Regions from separate parts of the Homo sapiens genome. Here all the other regions are linked to region 3. The links are contacts of gene promoters, found by promoter capture Hi-C in human tissues and cell types (Jung and others, 2019). All regions are on one chromosome and are shown on one strand. The core of a region is centred on a gene start or on the middle of the fragment in contact, and the rest is flanking DNA. Distances in the headings are between cores, read along the strand shown. Region 1 holds the start of CYP2B6 (cytochrome P450 family 2 subfamily B member 6). Region 2 overlaps CYP2B6 (cytochrome P450 family 2 subfamily B member 6). Region 3 holds the start of CYP2A13 (cytochrome P450 family 2 subfamily A member 13).

The links. The method cuts DNA at HindIII sites, captures the fragments that hold promoters and counts their contacts. A contact is called where the count stands out against the background at its distance.
Region 1: a contact is called between the fragment with the promoter of CYP2B6 here and the fragment with the promoter of CYP2A13 in region 3, in 2 of the 25 tissues and cell types used here (IMR-90 fibroblasts and adrenal gland).
Region 2: a contact is called between a fragment that was not itself captured here and the fragment with the promoter of CYP2A13 in region 3, in 5 of the 25 tissues and cell types used here (H1 embryonic stem cells, bladder, dorsolateral prefrontal cortex and 2 more).

Annotation. Positions count from the first base shown.
Region 1 is chr19:40,988,904-40,992,749 of GRCh38, reverse strand. CYP2B6 (cytochrome P450 family 2 subfamily B member 6) reads right to left here and starts at 1,468. Exons shown (of 9, transcript NM_000767.5): 1 at 1,274-1,468. The coding sequence starts at 1,444. RefSeq lists cis regulatory regions at 1,703-1,726, 3,101-3,113, promoters at 1,463-3,128, 1,429-3,697 and enhancers at 3,155-3,174, 3,157-3,204. The HindIII fragment of the contact is 18,373 bases long and covers 1-3,846 here.
Region 2 is chr19:41,012,105-41,015,665 of GRCh38, reverse strand. It overlaps CYP2B6 (cytochrome P450 family 2 subfamily B member 6), which reads right to left. Exons shown (of 9, transcript NM_000767.5): 7 at 3,181-3,368; 8 at 2,851-2,992. Among named protein-coding and RNA genes, the nearest start is that of CYP2B6, 23 kb to the right of the region's middle. The HindIII fragment of the contact is 4,745 bases long and covers 1-3,561 here.
Region 3 is chr19:41,086,091-41,090,097 of GRCh38, reverse strand. CYP2A13 (cytochrome P450 family 2 subfamily A member 13) reads right to left here and starts at 1,647. Exons shown (of 9, transcript NM_000766.5): 1 at 1,447-1,647; 2 at 1,007-1,169; 3 at 1-51. The coding sequence starts at 1,626. The HindIII fragment of the contact is 9,937 bases long and covers 1-4,007 here.

The DNA.
Region 1 (3,846 bases), core at 219-2,718, 97 kb after region 3:
CCAGGAGTTTAAGACCAGTCTGGGCAACATGGCAAAACCCTGTCTCTACAAAAAATACAAAAATTAGCTGGGCGTGGTGGCATGCACCTGTAGTTCCAGCTACTTGGGGGGCTGAGGCAGGAGGATCACTTGAGCCTTGGGAGGTCAAGGCTGCAGTGAGACGTGATCATGCCACAGCACTTCAGCCTGGCTGACAGAGTGAGGCCCTGTCTCAGAAAAAAAAAGAGTCTTAAATGCTCATATGCAGCCATTCTTTGTACATCCAGTGGGCTCATTACAGTGGGAACAACAAAAACATGAAGAAAAGGTAAAGAATCACTCAACTACGTTGACATTGTCCATTGTGAATTCCATACTGAGAGCAGACAAGTCCATTATGATGGTGACAGAAGTAATGTTGATGCCCAAGGTTTTGGTCAATCTCAAAATTTTGAGGCTGACCAAAAGGGGAGAATTGTTTAATTAAATTAAATTTGACCTAAAGCTCTCTCTGTAGAGTGAACTGCAACCTAACTTGGGAGTATATTCTTTTTTTTTTTTTTTTTTTTGAGAAGGAGTCTCACTCTGTCACCCAGGATGGAGTGCAGTGGTAAGATTTTGGCTCACTGCAACCTCTGCCTCCTGGATTCAAGTGATTCTCCTTCCTCAGCCTCCTGGGTAGCTGAGATTACAGGCACGCATCACTATGCCCAGCTAATATTTGTATTTTTAGTAGAGACAAGGTTTCACCATGTTGGCCAGGCTGGTCTCGAACTCCTGACCTCAGGTGATCCACCACCTCGGCCTCCAAAAGCACTGGGATTACAGGCATGAGCCACTGCACCTGGCCCAAATGAATATATTCTTGTGACAAGTAGCCAAGTGTTGGCTAATCAGAGCAGCTGGGCTTTCAGTCCACACAGGCTGCAAACTGCTCAGATTGTGACCAAGTAAGGCAAGCTGTGATCTGTGGCCAATCAGGCTGTTTCTGTATGTCACCTCCTTTTTCTGCCTGTAAATACCACTTGACCATACTGCCGTGTGGTGTCTTTCCTGGTTTAGGGAGCTGTCCAACTCATGAGTCACTTCTTTGCTCAAATAAACTCTGCTAAATTTAATTTGATGCTTTTCTCCTAATAATACCACCCATCATGCTTCACCATGCTCCGTACTCACCAACCATGCCCGTGCCACCCCTGACTCTGGAAGTCTGCCTCATTCTGTTTGGTGAAGCTTCCCCAAGTACCAAGGCAAGAAGCAGCTCACCCTCAGACCCCATTCGTCTGTGTCTTACCCTCAGAAAGGATTTGAGTAGGCCTCTTCTATCCATCTGCAGAAGGTTTCCCAAAAGGGGCAGAGGGCGGGGCCCTGGTGGGAGGCGGTCATGGGTGTTAGGGTGGCGCTGAACCAGGAGTAGCAAGAGTCCTGTGAGGAGTGCAAGGAAGAGGAGGACGCTGAGTTCCATGGTCCTGGTCTGACTGCCCTGCACCCTGCTGCAGCCTCCAACTGGGCCTTTTATCCTGACCCTGCCTCTGCACCCTGTTATAAAATTTCATCCATTCCCCACCTCCTTTTTCATCATCATCCAGGAGCATTAGCTTAGAAAAAGTTGTTAGGGAACCCAGACTTCCTGCTTGGGCAACCCAGTGACCTGATGCCTATCCCTTTACCCACTCTGTAGATATTGGCAGGGATACAGTGGTAGAGATATCAAAGTCCAGGTGAGCAAGTGAATGTGTGGGTGTGTGGGTTTGTGGGTATATGTATGTCTATTTTTGTAAGCATAGGTGAGCTTGCACTTTTTTACTTAGCTTTGTCTGTTTGTCTGTGCTTGCATGCATTTGTCCATGCCTGCTTGCATCCCTGTATGTGCTTATATGATTTTTACATGTAAAGGGGTGTTTGAATTTATGCAAATGTACTGGCGTATATTTCTGTGGTTGAATCTGGGGGTGCTTATGTGTGTATCCTTGCATGTGTATGAGCTTCCTTGTATTTATACAGTTTTATATACGAAAGTGCATTTACATTTGTGTGTTGTGGAGGTGGTGGTAGTGCATGTTCAAAACTGAGAGGCTGGCTGGGTGCGGTGGCTCACACCTGTAATCCCAGCACGTTGGGAAGCTGAGGGGGGCAGATCAATTGAGGTCAAGAGTTCGAGACCATCCTGGCCCACATGGCAAAACCCCATCTGTACTAAAAACACAAAAATTAACCGGGCGTGATGGTGGGTACTTTTAATCCCAGCTACTCGGGAGGCTGAGGCAAGAGAATCACTTGAACCTGGGAGGTGGAGGCTGCAGTGAGCCAAGATTACACCACTGCACTCCAGCCTGGGTGACACAGCAATACTCCATCTCAAAAAAAAAAAAAAAAAAAAAAAAAGGAGAAGCTGATGAAAATAAGGAATTATTCAATTCAATCAAATTTGGCCTACTGCCTTTGTAGCATAGCAAACTGTAACCTAGCAATACATGAACCAATTGTGTGTATCTGTGTGTGCTGGTGTATTTGTGCTGGTGTGTTGGTGGATCTCCTAGCCCCTCTCTTTGGAAGCCTGCAGATGCTGAGTCTATCTCCAGTGTCCCCTCCTTCATCCGCCCTTCTGTGACAGCCACAGGTGGAAGTGGTCGGAGAAACAGAAGGAGGAGCAAGAGATGCAGAACTGGTGAGTCTCAGAGGAAGAGGTGGTCAGTTGGAAGGAGACAGAAACTGAGACCTGGCAGGTACAGCGATCAGGTCCTCTTGGTTTCTGATCACTCTAACTAGTGCTAAGGAGTTTCTTCCCTGCCTCTGACTATCTTCACGGTGCAGGAAATTTCTCTGGCTCTCTCTCTGTCTGACTTTGTGTCTCTGTTTTCCCCCTGGAGACTCTTGAGCTCCAGGTGTGTGCAAACTGAGTCCAGTTTGATTGATGTCTACTGGACTCCCATATGTCTCTATCCTCACTGTGCACCTTCACCCACACATCCTCTGACAGGGTCAGTCCATCTTTGCAAAACGTGGGTGTGAATGTGTGCGTGTCTGCCTGTCTCATCCTACGCCTGACTTTTGACCATGAGGCAACATCTTTCTTGCAATGTTAAGCAAACCCTTTGCTGGATCCAGGACCTGAACCCGAAGTTACTTTGACCCAGGAGGAGCAGACAAACAGTCCTATTTGTAAGAGGTGGAAACTGTACTTTCCTGACCCTGAAGAGGTGGCAGCATGGACTTTCCTGAACCAAGGGCCTCGGTCTTGCTGTGCTGTGTCATCTGACACTAAGATTGGGTGCTCATTGCAGCCCCAGGGTGAAGCACCGATGGGGAGGCGTGAAGTGCTTTACACACAGTAACTCAGTCTTTACACTCTTAGTGAGGTATTGTTGCCATCCCCATTTTATAGATGGAGATATTGAAGCAATGACAGTTTGCAAGTCTTACCCAAGGTCATACAGTGGGTTGGGGCTACATTGTCCAATGTGATAGTCACTTGCTGCATGTGGCCACTAATTAAGTACTTGAAATGTGGTCCAAATGCTATTTACAATAGCAAAAATAGGGAATCAACAGATGAATGGTTAAATAAAATGTGGTATATATACACCATTGAATACTATTTAGCCATAAAAAGGAATAAAATAATGTCTTTTATAGCAACATGGATACAACTGGAGGGGATTATCTTAAGTGAAACAAGCCAGGCACAGAAAGTGAATATCACATGTTCTCATTCATAAGTGGGTGCTAAACAATGTGTACACATGGACATAGAGAGTGGCATTATCAGGGGAAATTCAGCCAGATATCGGGCAAAATTCACCCCCAATATTCCACGTAGGTTCTTTTCTGTTCTCCCTAAGTGTCGGCCAGCCTGAGAAATAAAGG
Region 2 (3,561 bases), core at 400-2,899, 74 kb after region 3:
TGATGCGTATGAGACAGGGAGGGTCTATGGCTTCCACTGATTCTCAGAGGTGCAAGGAACCCCCAGTAGATTCTAAACCACAGATTGGGAGAAAAATAAGAACAAAGGGTGCTGGAAAAAGCTCAGGCAGAGACAAAGGGAGCCTTTCCCTTCACTTCAGTGTTTCATAATCTGCAAACCTTGGAAAGGCCATGTCAAGTGTGAGTTTTCAGGCATTCCCTATGCCTGTCAAGTTGTTGGACAAGTGTGTCTATGTGGAGGTGTTTGGAAAAGTGTCCACATCCCTTTGGCATACCCAGAAGGTGGGTGACATGAGCTTAGAAACAGGCAGGTCTCTGGGCCTGTTCTTCTGTAACTCTTTGTGTGACCTAACATTTTTCACAACAGCCTGAGGCTTATTATCTCCCTCTCATCACGCCCTCCCCATCTCTGGGGCCGTCTGTTTGGACACCTTTCGAATTTCTTTGGCTGCAGTACCCTTTTGGCTTGGGTTATACCTTTCTTTCTGCCCCTGGCAGCCCTACTCCTGTCTTTTTCTCTGTCTATACCTGTCAGACACAGCTTTTCTTCTTTTCCTCTCCTTTTTTTGGCTTTCTTCCATCTTGCTTAACTTCCTATCTCCATCTATTTGAATCTGATTTCTCCCCAATCTCTTTCTCTCTCATTCTTTCTTTTCATCTCCCTCTAAAGATACCTTATTTGTCTTGTTCATTCTTTCTTCCTCTCTTTTTATGTCACTCTCTCTTTTTCCTATCTCTTATTCTGTTTCTCTCCTTTCCCTCCTTTCTCCCCTCCTCCTTCCTTTTCCTACTCTCTCTCCTCTTATTCCTCCTCCTCCTCCTTCTCCTTACGTGACTCTCTCTCTCTCTGTGTCTCTCTCTCTTCCTCTCTGTATACTGTCTGAGGTTTGCCCTCTGTCTTTCTGCCACTGGCTCCCCATCTCTATCTCTATGTGTTCCCTCTTTGTCCCTAACTCTGTTTCTCAGTCTCATTATCTTTGTTACTTATCTGTCTCTGTCCTTATTTCCCTACATCTCTGCCTCTCTTAAAACAAATTAGCAGGCCAGTCGCAGTGGCTTATGCCTGTAATCCCAGGACTTTCAGAAACTGAGGTGGGCATATCACAAGGTCAGAAGATCAGCACCATCCTGGCTAACACGGTGAAACCCAGTCTCTACTAAAAATAAAAAAAAATAGCCAGGCATGGTGGCATGCGCCCGTAGTTTCAGGTACTCGGGAGGCTGAGGCAGGAGAATCACTTGAACCTGGGAGGCAGAGGTTGCAGTGAGCTGTGATCGTGACACTGCACTCCAGCCTGGGCAACACAGGAAGACTCCGTCTGAAGACAAAAAAAAAAAAAGAAACTTCAGATAGCAAAATTGAGAGAAGACATTGACATTCAAGCCATCACCACACATGTTCCCAATTTTCATTGAAGATAAAATGTGGAAGGAGGTCACTGTACTGCGCAAAACCGGGGGCTGGGCCAAACCCTGGATCACTGAAGTCACTGATGAAACTCAAGACTGGGGGTTTGTTTCTGGGGCCTTTCATGGATGGTGCATGTTAAATTCAATTAAATTTGGCCTAAAGCAGCCTCCCTACATAACAAATTGTAATGTAACTCAACATGTAAACAAACTTGAGAGTATATTCTTGTAACAAGTAACCTTGGACAATCAGGGCAGCCAAGCTTCAGCCAGTCACAGGCTACAAGCTGCCCAGACATGCTCAGATAAGGCAAACACAGAGCTGTAACCAATCAGGCTGTTTCAGTACCTCAGTTCCTTTCCCTGTGGATAAATAGTGCCTGACCACATTGCTGGATGGAGCTCTCTGAACCTTTACTGGTTCCTTGTGCTGCCCAATTCATGAATTGTTTCTTTGTTCAGATAGACTCTGCTAAGTTTAATTTGTCTAAAGTTTTTCTTTTAACCAGCCAAAGAGTAGAGGATGAGAACTGGGACAAGTCAGAGCACGTCAAGACCTTTTCCACCTTCCCAGTGCTAGACCATAAATCCAAACTCCTCCTGCAACCTTCAAGGTCCTGCCCAGATGAGCCCTTTGTCTTATTTCCTTCTGCAATCTACACCCAAGGCTCACTGGACTTCCTATAGGTTCTCAATGGTGCCATATCACGTTTCTACCTTTGGCCTTTGTCCTTGCTGTTTCCTTTGCCTGGAACACACTTTGCAATGGTTGATTGATGCTCACCCATGAACATGTTAGCTTGGAAGCCAGTTCCTCTGGTAAGCTTTTCCTTACGGACCCACCACAAGATTAGCTACTATTTCCTATTTTGTGCTCCCAAAGCTCCCTTTAGAGCACTTATCACAATTATGTCTAATTATAATAATAATTGCCCTTGTGAGCATGTCCTTTGTGCCAGGCAGTTCTAAGCATGTTGCAGGCATTCATTCATTTCATGAGATGATTATTTTATTATTATTTGATGAATGCCCATCTTCCCTGCTGGACTTTAAATTTCCTGGGGCAGGAACCCTGTCTCTGTGTGACTTGTTTGATGCATTATCTTCAGCCCCCAGTACAGCACTGGGCTTACAGTGGTGCCCAACAGATTTTTTCTTTTTAAGAAAATGAACTCACTGAGGTTTAGAGATGTTAAAATACTTGCCCAAGGTCCTGCTTGCCAAGATGTGCCTTTGGGAATGTAATCTTCTTTCTCAAGCCTCCTTATAGGGTTGTAGTGAAGATGGAATGGGATAAGGCAGGTGAAGCAATCAGAATATATTAAGTGCTCAAATAATCAGTATCTCTCGTTGTTTTTCTCAAGTTGGGGATAGTACCTGCCCTCTGGTGTCTGGGAAAGAAATTGTGGGTCCAGCTTACCTAAGGAGAAGGGGATAAAAGCTTCAGTCTTTTTCAGTGCCCCATTGGCATCCAGAAAGTGGTCAGGATTGAAGGCGTCTGGTTTTTCAAAGTAGTGTGGGTCATGGAGAGCAGTGCTCAGGATGAGAAATACTTCTGTGTCCTGAGGGAGGATCACAAGATCAAAAGATATTGCCATTCCCTCCAACCCTCCACACACTCCACAAAAAAGAAATACAAAAAACAAAAACAACGGGACTCAATTAAGGAGCTAACAAAAGGTTGAGTTCGGGGATTAAGAGAATCCAGGATGCCCAAACAGGAGGGCTATGGGGTTCCAGCCGGTCTTACCTTGGGGATGATGTACCCTCGGAAGCTGGTGTGTTGGGTGACAATGTGGGGCACACCCATGGGGAGAAGGTCGGAAAATCTCTGAATCTCATAGATGACTGCCTCTGTGTATGGCATTTTGGCTCGGTCATGAAGCTCTGGAGGGCGATGTGGGCCAATCACCTGTTCAATCTCCCTGTAGACTCTCTCTGTACAGAAAAGAAGACCAATGAATCTCATTTTAAAGAGGCATTTCAGGCCAGGCATGGTGGCTCATGCCTGTAATCCCAGCAATTTTGGAGGTTGAGGTGGGTGGATTCCTTGAGGTCAGGAGTTCAAGATGAGCCTGGCCAACATGGCAAAATCCCGTCTCTCCTAAAAATACAAAAAATTAGCTGGGTG
Region 3 (4,007 bases), core at 398-2,897:
TGGAGAAGCGCCGGAGCTGCTTGGCGCGCTCCCCGTTGCTGAACGCCACGCCTGGGGAGGTGAACGCGGGGGTGGAGAGAGGTCAGGGGGCGGCGGGAGCAGGAGCGGACCAGCTCCAAGGGGCTCCCCAAGGGTGGAGCAGAGAGGGAGTGGGGTGGGAGAGAGATGGATTCAGCGCGAGTGCCCAGGAGAGCTGCAAACTCAGTCAGAGAAACACGAGAGCACGAGAGAGAGAGAGAGAGAGAGAGAGAGAGAGAGAGAGAGAGAGAGAGAGAGAGAGAGAGAGAGAGAGACCGGGTAGAAAGAATAAGAGAATCAGAAGAGAAGCAGAAAGGCCAGACAGACAGATGCAGAGAAACAGAGGGATACGGGGATACTCCATGGAGGAAGGGAAGGAAGTGGGGAGAGAAAGAGAGAGATGGAGGGAGGGGAAGTGAGATATGGGGAGATCTGGGAGGAGGAAATAAAAATGGTGAAAGATTCTTAAGCTGAACTGGAGAAGAGAGAAAAATATGGAGACAGAAACAGAGAGGATCGGGAAGGAGGACAGACAATTACCAGGAGTTGGAGGCTGGAGATGTGGAAGTAGGAATACCCTGAAATCCTAAGACAGAGGAAGAAGTGGGAGAGGGAAGCAGAGAGAGGAGAAACACGGAGAAGCACAGAAGCCGAGAGCGACAAAAAGACAAATGAAGACAGAGGACCAGGGCTGGAAAACAGAAACCCAGGATGTCCTCAGAGATGGAGAGAGAGGGGAAAGAGGAGACTCCAGTGAGAGAGAAGGAGGAGACGGGGCAGAGAGAGGCAGGGAGGAATCACGACAGGGACGCTGGAGACAGGTGAGGGACGCACAGGGAGAGGCCACGATGAAGGGAGATGGGGAGAGAAGACCAGACAGGGGGCTCTGCCATAGCCTCCAGTGGGCAGGAGAGTCAGGGAGAAGGCTGGGGACACGGAGACCATTGCATCCACCTGGCCACCTTCCCCCTCTTGGGCACCCCCTCACCATAGCCTTTGAAGAGCCAGTCGAAGGTGGCCTGCTCGCCTCGCCCGCTGAACTCCTCAGCCTGGTCCACCAGAGCCTCCTTGACGGCATCATGTCCGCACAGCACCACGACCCGCCGGGGCCCCAAGTGAATGGTGAACACAGGGCCATAGCGCTCACTGATCTGTTGGAGGCAGGTGGGAGTGGTTAGAGGGAGCAGCCCCCACTCTGAATGGGCCCAGCACTGAGATATCATGTACTGGGATGCTTCGCCCCCAGGTTCTCACAGTCAGGGAGCTGGACATCCCAAGATCCTGTCTTTCCTGCTAGGACCCTGATGCTGAAACTCCAAGACTCCCTTTCCTAAGACTCTGGTCCACACTGGTCAATCCCCTGCCACAAAGCCCCAGCCAACTGGGCAGCCCCCACCCCGTGCCACCCATCTCCCTGCCTTAGGACACCTTCATGAGGGAGTTGTACATCTGCTCTGTGTTCAGCTGCAGGTAGTTTCCAATGAAGGGCAATGGGGTGGGTCCCGGAGGCAGCTTCCCCCTGCTCTTCCTCTGCCGCCAGACTGACATCAAGACCATCACAGTCAGGCAGGCCAGCAAGGTCACCAGAAGCAGCCCTGAGGCCAGCATGGTGGCAGTGGGATGATAGATGGTGATGGCTGGGGTGGTTTGCCTTTATACTGCCTGAAAAAGAGGGATGGACTTTGGTTGATTATATAATCACCTCATTTCACCTCCCAACTACACCCCAACCCTGAATCCCACACAGCTTAGGACACAGCCAGCAAGGGAGGAGGAGAGGGACCCCAGGGAAGCTGAACAGGGAGGGGAACTCCAGACTAAATCTGGTACTTCAGGAGGGTTGCTGCAGGGCTGTGGATTTAGGAGCGGGCAACAGATAAACTGTGGAACTGAGGAGTTTGGAATATTTGCACAGGGGAGCACCTGGACTTTGGATTTGGGATCTGGGAGTGAGAATGCACCCCAAAGTTGTGGATTTGGGCATTCCACGGGAGAGGAATCCAAAGGTCTGGGTTTTACTAGGGTGAGATGGAAGTGTGGCTGTGCATCTGGGGGTCTTCTGTTGTGGAGGATGCAGGGTTAAGGGTCTCAGGACGGGGGATTCCAGGCATATGGACTTGAAAGTCTTGGGGCTAGGAAGACCCAGGGCTGTGGGTGTGGAGTTTCTGGGAGGTGGAGTGTGTAGCAAGCCCAGCAGGTGCTCCCAGAAAGCCCAGCAGCCCAGCACTGGGCCCAGGGACTGACTTGATTTTGCTTTGACCCAGAGCTGTCTCTTGATGCCCAGAATCCTCATTGGAACCTCAGAGTGAGGCCAGGATGGGTGCCATAGAACCTCCGCTGCCCATCTCTGGCTGGGAAAGGGGCAGAAGACGAGAGCCATATTTCAGAGGAACTTTCCCCACACGTGGAGAAGAGTACCTCATGTTACCAGTTGGCAGAGGGGATTGGCTAGGTCTGGAGAAATAGTAATAACAACCCTCAAATGCTGGAAAAATCTCAAGTGTCCCAAGGGTTGTAATTTACGAAGAACTCCACTGGTTTCCAACCCAGATTCTTAGGGAAACCCACTAGATTGATTGTATCATCCCTATTAATACTATGATTGTTATTTATGTTTCTCATTTTATATAAAGATCTACAGAGGACAGAAAACAGACAGTGGGCAGGGGACATGTGTGAGTGGCCCTGAACTCCCATCTCTCTTGCTCTGCGTCTTTAGTTCCACTTTCTGGATTTGGTTTTCCTGCCAGTGGAAAGGGAGTGTTTGGGAAGAGAAGACCACGTTTGAGGGTGAGTTAAGTCTCCTTTAAGGGCGATTCCTGCTTTGTCAGGGGCTACTACTATTAGTAGGCAGAGGGAACAATCGCAGAAGAGATTGGGGTAAACTCCAGTATTAGGCACAGAGGCAGATCCTGGGGTGGGTGTGAGTGGAGAAGGGATGAGTAGCCCTCCTGTCCTTCCCTCAAGGAAATTCTTCCTTAGTAAACAGGACAGTTACCCTTTGGTGAGCATGGTCATATATGGGAAGATTAAGTCTAGGTGTGTATGATCTGGTTGAATCTTTGTAACAGTGAGGTTGGTTCATCATGATCATCCTCATTTTGAAGATGAGCAGATCTAGACTCCATAAATCCTCTTGAGTGAGGTCACACAGGGAGTAAGTGAGGGAGCTGGGATGTGAACTTTCTCCTCGCCCCCCTTCATTGACTGGCCTAGATCACCCTGGGAGTCAAGTGCAGGCCAGGCTTAGCAGGAGGTGAGTGCTGGGACTGGCATCAGCAGTGGACACACTGATGACATTGGCGGGTTCTGATATCAGCATCAGGTGTGTCCAGGGAGGGAAAGGCATCGTGTTGGCTTTGGGACTGCCCCCAGGTGTATGCGAGGATGGGAAACAAGTTGGCACTGAACTTGACACCAGGAGAATATTGAAGTCATGTTTGGTGCCAAGAGGGCTCTGTGTGTTGTCTCAGGTGTCATTGAGGGCATAAGAGAGTCCTGCTTCAGGAGGGCATAAGAGTGGCACCATATAGGGTCTGAGGTTGGTCCCAGTGGGCTCTGACATGAGCATGAGGCAGGTGTTGATATTGGTCCTATGTGGGTCTGAGATGAGCCTCAGCCAGACCCTGAGAGGGGCTCCAGATGGGCACAGGACAGGCTCTGATGTTTGGACCTTCCACTGTTGCACCTCTCCTCTGGGTCACCAACTGTGGACAAGTGGAGGTGGGTGAGGTTGGCCCCCCCAGGACTGACATCTTGCTCAAAGTGTTCTAGGATGCTGAGCTCTGAGACCTGTGTGGAGGGAACAAAGATCAGAGAACAAAGGGGACAGAGGAAAGTTGTTTGTTGATTTTGGAGGGGAAGAGGTGGGAAGGAGGATTAGCACCAGCTTGGCAGATATCAATCCCTCTAATCCTGGTCACCAGCCTGCACCTGGGCTGGCCCTAAGCCTGGGCTCCTCCTTTTCCTTCTAGTTCCTTAAAAAGGTG